Regions from separate parts of the Homo sapiens genome. Here region 1 is linked to region 2. Evidence: promoter capture Hi-C in 16 types of primary human blood cells and fetal thymus (Javierre and others, 2016). All regions are on one chromosome and are shown on one strand. The core of a region is centred on a gene start or on the middle of the fragment in contact, and the rest is flanking DNA. Distances in the headings are between cores, read along the strand shown.

Evidence for each region. The method cuts DNA at HindIII sites, captures the fragments that hold promoters and counts their contacts. A CHiCAGO score of 5 or more calls a contact.
Region 1: a contact is called between the fragment with the promoter of ATL1 here and the fragment with the promoter of ARF6 in region 2, in 1 of 17 cell types (fetal thymus). The highest score is 5.3, in fetal thymus.

Annotation. Positions count from the first base shown.
Region 1 is chr14:50,558,468-50,561,866 of GRCh38, forward strand. ATL1 (atlastin GTPase 1) reads left to right here and starts at 1,678. Exons shown (of 14, transcript NM_015915.5): 1 at 1,678-1,832. The coding sequence starts at 1,799. It also overlaps a transcript of MAP4K5 not described here. RefSeq lists an enhancer at 1,772-2,271 and a silencer at 2,013-2,372. The HindIII fragment of the contact is 3,968 bases long and covers 1-3,399 here.
Region 2 is chr14:49,891,260-49,894,547 of GRCh38, forward strand. It overlaps ARF6 (ARF GTPase 6), which reads left to right and starts at 1,823. Exons shown (of 2, transcript NM_001663.4): 1 at 1,823-1,898; 2 at 1,997-3,288. The coding sequence starts at 2,478. The coding sequence ends at 3,005. RefSeq lists enhancers at 1,383-1,482, 2,353-2,672, 2,703-2,752 and silencers at 1,573-1,962, 2,003-2,192. The HindIII fragment of the contact is 6,329 bases long and covers 212-3,288 here.

The DNA.
Region 1 (3,399 bases), core at 428-2,927, 670 kb after region 2:
GTTATTGGCCAATAGTACAAAAAGTCACATACAGAGAGCTATTTATTTAAGCATTTTTTTGTGATTCACACAGTCTCAAAGTATTCACCTGCAGATTACTTACTAATTATAAACACAACAGGTTTTTAAAAAATTAATTTCTTTTTCAATTGGGCATAGGTGTTGAATTATATAAATTTTTTCTTTTTTGTGTGTAATCTATTGTACTCTTAAAAATGGGATTCATATGAAAGGGATTTTCAGGCTGGAATGTAAGCTGAGAATGATAGTAAAGGAATATAAGAAGAAAAGCAGACCACACTTCTCTTTTGTTCTATGAACTTGGTTTATAGGTATAAGGATGAGATAATGTCTGTCTTCCTATGTTGTTTCATTAATGTCATTTCAACTCTGTTGAGCACAGACTTCTTTAAAACCATGTTGTAAACTTGGTTACAGTGTTCACGACTCTGCAGTCACTAGAACCAGTAACTGAAATATAATGCATAAGATTTGGCAGTGGTGGGGGAGTTTGTTTTCAGATATGTTGATGTTCAAATGTCAGTAGGAAAACAACGTGAGGATAACCTTAGGCAGTTATAAACACACCTCTGGTATAATGTCCTCTCTTCTAGAGGGCAGAAGACTACAAGTATAGATTTGGGAATCATCAGCATGGAGGTCCTGTCTGAAGCCATCATAGTAAATTACATTGAGAGAGTGTAGCGTGAGGAGTTGCTTACCATGAGGAATTAGCAGAGATCATGGATCTGGTAATTAAGAGGCTGGCAGTGATCTCCTAAGAACCGATCAGTACAGAGTGTGAGTAACAACCAAATGGCAGAAGGAAACTGTAAGGGACGGCATGATGGTATCTTGAGGTTGAGGTAGTATAAAGGGACAGTGTTTCCAGGTTACTGAAAACAACTAAGTTTGTAGCAGAGAGAAAGCAGTGAAAAGGGAAAGATTGAAAGTATTTTTATTTTTTTTCTTTTCCTTTCAAAATTGTCTGCAACCTTTATGGCTGCCAGGGCCCACCCATACCCAGACTATGTAGTATGATTTCAGCTCAAATAATTGCTATTGGACTATAGGTCTGGACCTTATCTTTGCAAATCTAGTGGGAAATTTTACCCAGTGGATATTGAGTTACAGATCGTAATGAATCTACAGCTTTCATTTATCTTGATCTTCTTGATATAAATTTTGCTATTCTAATTTTAAGACAAACTACTCAGTATACATATACAAAAATGCATGATACCCTCTTTACTAACATGACCTTGCTTTTAAAATGGAAAAAAAAATGGGTGCCTCGTAGATAAATGCACATTATTTTAGCTACTTTGGCTATATAAATGTTGCCAGCTTGTTTGTACTAATGTATAACCGTGCTTGAAACAGGTATTTGAACATCCAGAATCATGCAGTATATCGGTTTGTGTATTTCTGATAACGCTGTTAAATTCTTTGAGAGTGTGTTCGAGGGGGGTGCTGTTTATTTGTTTGTGTTTTCCGTTGAAAATGTTGCGGTACGTGGTCTATCACTGTCTTCACGGTCTGGGGGTGGACTGAGGTAGGGAGGGTGTGACGCTGGTATCTGTGTGAACTCGGGCTTGTGATGCTGAGCTTGGTTCATCTGCTTTCTCCTCCCTTTTCCTCCCCACTCCTTCCCACCAGCGCCACAGCAACATCCTCAGAGTCTGAGCGAACTGCGCCCAGCGCGGGCACGGAGCCTCCCACCGCCAGCAACCTGCGGCCCCGGAGAAGGCAGCGAGCGCAGTGACAGCGCCTCACCGCCACCAGCTCCTGGACCACCATGGCCAAGAACCGCAGGGACAGAAACAGTTGGGGTGAGTAGCAAATGAGAACTTCTGCAGCCTGCACGGGGTCTTCTGGCCCTCCACTTTCTGCTTCTGTGGAGACAGGGAGGGCCAAGGGCTGCTAGGTGCCTGCGTCCACGGCTGGGAGACGGGCCGTAGCCGAGCCGCTCCCTGTTTGGGCGGAGGAACCATGGCCGAGCGGTACCCGCGTCACCGAATCGCGCTGTCGGGGTGAGGGCTGCAGCTTCGCGCAGGCCGGGCCTCCAGCTCCTTCTTCCCCACCCCCCTCCCGCCTCCTCCCAGCATTTGGACAGCACCCACCAGGCGCCTCCGGGGACTTGTGGGTTCCGCCTTAGCGATCGGTTGGGAGGAAGGCTATGGGGGTGGGCAGGGGGCTGTTGTTACTCGGCCCCAGAGGGGCGAGGGGTCGGGGATCTAGAGCAGGCCAAGCCCCAACCCCCCTCCCCGGGAGCCGCCAACTCGCTGGCTCTGCAGGGCGCGGGCTCCCGGCGGCGGGCGGCGGGCGGCGCGCTGGAACAATGAGGCGGAGCGCGCCGGGTCCCGGACGGACGGTAGCAGACCGAGCAACTGGGAGAAGGGCCACCCTCTTGGGAATTCCTGAGCACTGCAGTACTCCTCTTAATTTGGGGGTTGGGTGGGGGAATTGGGGAAGAAGGAGAGCAAAGTTGTGGTTTCCAGCCTTCTGCCCCACCCCGACGTGGTACCCCATTCAGACCAGCCCCAAGGGTGGCTTTGTTCTTTGATTTTACCTTTTGGAGACATTGGGCTCATGATTCAGCACCAGGCCGAGGGGAGGGGAAAGGAGAGGCGAGACCCAGTATGTTCACACCGCGAGTGGGTGGGCGGTGCTCACGCAGGCGGAGAAGAACGGGCGCAGCGATGCGGAAGAAATCGCGGCCCCGCCCGCCTTGCTGCTCCAGACCTAGTTCTGGACGGTTAGTGTGGGCAGGCTGGGCGTCTTTTTGTCGTAGGTTCCCGATTTCTTGCAGTCACAGTGCTAAACTCACCAGCATCTTAGGAACGAAAGCCCTCTAAGGCATTTATTTTATTATCTGAACCAGAGAATGTCTCAGGCTACTGTGGCTTGGTGGGTAAATAAATATTTTGTTCATCAGCTTGTTATTTAGAAATTGTTATTTGGAAATAACAGTTGTTATTATTTGAAAAGTTCAGAGCTGCTTGATTCTGTTCCACATCTCAGTGAGAGCTCTTCTATAACTGTTTATTTGAGCGAGAGGCACAAATGTAAATTTTAATTGGTTATTTCAGTTTACTTTAATCAAAAGACCGTGTATCTCCTTGCCTCTGATTGTTCTAATGGTCACAGGATACGGTAGACAAGGTTTACATTTGGGAGATTATCCAAGGTTTGTGGTAGGCATGGAGAGTTGGAGCGGGGAGGTCTGTCATGACTTAGCTGAGTTTAAGAGAAAGTGGTTCCATTTTCTGAGATCATGAAACTTCAGTTTTAACAGACCTACCTGACTATTGCAATAAGTTTTATTTCCTTCTTCTGAAATTTAAGTAAGCATTTGCAGTGTATCCCCTTTCCACCCGTTCTCTTGGCCTCTAGAAT
Region 2 (3,288 bases), core at 573-3,072:
GAGAAATTAGTCAGGCGTGGTGGCGCACGCCTTTAGTCCCAGATACTGGTGAGGCTGAGGTGGGAGGATCTCTTGAGCCTAGGAGGCTGAAGCTGCAGTGAGCTGACATCGCACCACTGCACTGCAGCCTTGGTGACAGAGCGAGACCTTGTCCCAAAAATAGAGAGGTGGGGTTGGGGATGACACTTGAACCCCAATCTTCAGACTCCTAAGCTTTTCAGTTTTATGACAGTGCTTCATCTTAAGGTAAATGGAAAGTAAATGAAATAATTGTTAGAATATTAATGTTTAATAAGTTTATTTCCGACTGAAATGACGTTTATAAGGTTATCATATAACCTATCTACCATTATCTAATATTTTAAATTTGTTTAATAAAAACAGTATGTTACCATATGCTGTTTATAGCATCTTGCTTTTTAAACAAAGATACCCATTTCCTGTTTTTCTCCCCTTGATATTTGAAGGTTTCACGTTATTTTAAGTCTAATTTTATCATTAACCATTTGATACAAAAATGTGTCCTTGGCAGGGCGCAGTGGCTCACGCCTGTAATCCCAGCATTTTGGGGGGCCGAGGCGGGTGGATCACCTGAGGTCAGGACTTCGAGACCAGCCTGGCCAACATGGTGAAACCCCGTCTCTACTAAAAATACAAAAATTAGCCGGGCGTGGTGGTGGGCGACCTAATTCCAGCTGCTCCGGAGGCTAAGGCAGAACTGCTTGAACCCAGGATGAGGAGGCTGCAGTGAGCCGAGATTGTGCAACTGGACTCCAGCCTGGGCGACAGAGTGAGACCCCGTCTCAAGAAACAAACAAAAACCAAAAAACCAAAAATGTGCCCTGAAGTCTTCCACATTGTATTATTTAAGCCTCACGTGAGTTAGCAAGGTCAGTTTACACGAGATAAACTTAGTAAGGTTAAGTGCCCAGATCCAGGCCATACAAGCGGTCGTTCTATATTCTAAATTCTATGCTTCTTAAAGTTAAGAATGGGTAGTAGTTAAGAAGCTACTACTAACAGTATGAGATAAAATGATATTTTAAAGATGAACAGATGTCGCATTCTAAAAAGGTGAAAACGCGGCAAGGCACAGGAACTCTTCATAATACTGCAGTTTTTAAGAAACATGGGCTGGTCTTGACGAGACCTATAGGCAGACAGGGCTCAAACATTCAAAAGAGCTGCAGAGTAAACTCAACTCCGGGAAAGCGCTGCACTGACTGGCAGATTCCACACGAGACACTGGCCTCCCACGTGTCTTTCAGGAAACATACAAAATTCAAGGGATAAAGGAAGCCAAGAAGGGGTTGCGAAAAAGGGAAAAAAAAAAAAAACAAAAGCGAACAGAGCTTCCCTGGGACGTTCAGGGAGCGCGGAGGGTGCGGGAAGGCTGGGGCGGGCGGAGGGAATTCGCAGAGCATCTGGCGGGCACCGAGGTCTGGGAACAGGCCTGGAGGCAGCTCGGTTCGTGGAGAGAGCGGGCTGCCCGTGGGCCCCACCCTGTAGGGCCCCCCAGTAGATCTGCTCCCTTGGTTCGGGTGGGCAGGGGAGGGCAGAGCGCAAAAGAGAAAAGCAGGGAAGGAGACGCTAGAAGAGCCACGGGTAGGCGCGAGTCAGAGTCCGAGGTTCGAGGGCTCTGGGCCGGCCGCATCTGCGAGCCCTCCGAGGCGCCGTAGCCCCGCCCCTCCGGCGCGTGGCGCCCATGACGCTAGGCGCGCGGGCCGCTCTCCTTACAGAGGTCGCTCTTGTCCGAACGGTCGGCCTCTGCTGCGCCTGCGTGGTCGGGAGGGGAAGTGAGGCGGTTTCCTCGGCGCCTTTTCCGGCAGCGGCGGCGGCAGAACTGGGAGGAGGAGTTGGAGGCCGGAGGGAGCCCGCGCTCGGGGCGGCGGCTGGAGGTAACCCCTTGGGCCGAGCTGGAAAGGCGGGCCACCTCGGTCTTCGCTCCTTTGTGGAGCTCTGGCAGTAACTCCCCTCCCTCTCTGTTTCTCTGCAGGCAGCGCACCGAGTTCCCGCGAGGATCCATGACCTGACGGGGCCCCGGAGCCGCGCTGCCTCTCGGGTGTCCTGGGTCGGTGGGGAGCCCAGTGCTCGCAGGCCGGCGGGCGGGCCGGAGGGCTGCAGTCTCCCTCGCGGTGAGAGGAAGGCGGAGGAGCGGGAACCGCGGCGGCGCTCGCGCGGCGCCTGCGGGGGGAAGGGCAGTTCCGGGCCGGGCCGCGCCTCAGCAGGGCGGCGGCTCCCAGCGCAGTCTCAGGGCCCGGGTGGCGGCGGCGACTGGAGAAATCAAGTTGTGCGGTCGGTGATGCCCGAGTGAGCGGGGGGCCTGGGCCTCTGCCCTTAGGAGGCAACTCCCACGCAGGCCGCAAAGGCGCTCTCGCGGCCGAGAGGCTTCGTTTCGGTTTCGCGGCGGCGGCGGCGTTGTTGGCTGAGGGGACCCGGGACACCTGAATGCCCCCGGCCCCGGCTCCTCCGACGCGATGGGGAAGGTGCTATCCAAAATCTTCGGGAACAAGGAAATGCGGATCCTCATGTTGGGCCTGGACGCGGCCGGCAAGACAACAATCCTGTACAAGTTGAAGCTGGGCCAGTCGGTGACCACCATTCCCACTGTGGGTTTCAACGTGGAGACGGTGACTTACAAAAATGTCAAGTTCAACGTATGGGATGTGGGCGGCCAGGACAAGATCCGGCCGCTCTGGCGGCATTACTACACTGGGACCCAAGGTCTCATCTTCGTAGTGGACTGCGCCGACCGCGACCGCATCGATGAGGCTCGCCAGGAGCTGCACCGCATTATCAATGACCGGGAGATGAGGGACGCCATAATCCTCATCTTCGCCAACAAGCAGGACCTGCCCGATGCCATGAAACCCCACGAGATCCAGGAGAAACTGGGCCTGACCCGGATTCGGGACAGGAACTGGTATGTGCAGCCCTCCTGTGCCACCTCAGGGGACGGACTCTATGAGGGGCTCACATGGTTAACCTCTAACTACAAATCTTAATGAGCATTCTCCACCCATCCCCTGGAAGGAGAGAAATCAAAAACCCATTCATAGGATTATCGCCACCATCACCTCTTTCAATTGCCACTTTCTCTTCTTTTGAATTTGAACTCTGGAGTTACTGTTCTACAGTTTGGCGGGGACGGGGCTTGGGGGTTTTCTCTTTTGTTTGTTTCCCTTTCTTTTTCCTTTTTTTTTTTTTTTTTTTTTTGTTGGCTTTGCGTTAGGATGCTCTGATCTGACATTTGACATGAACACAAAGTTGCTAGATGCTCTTGTTGAC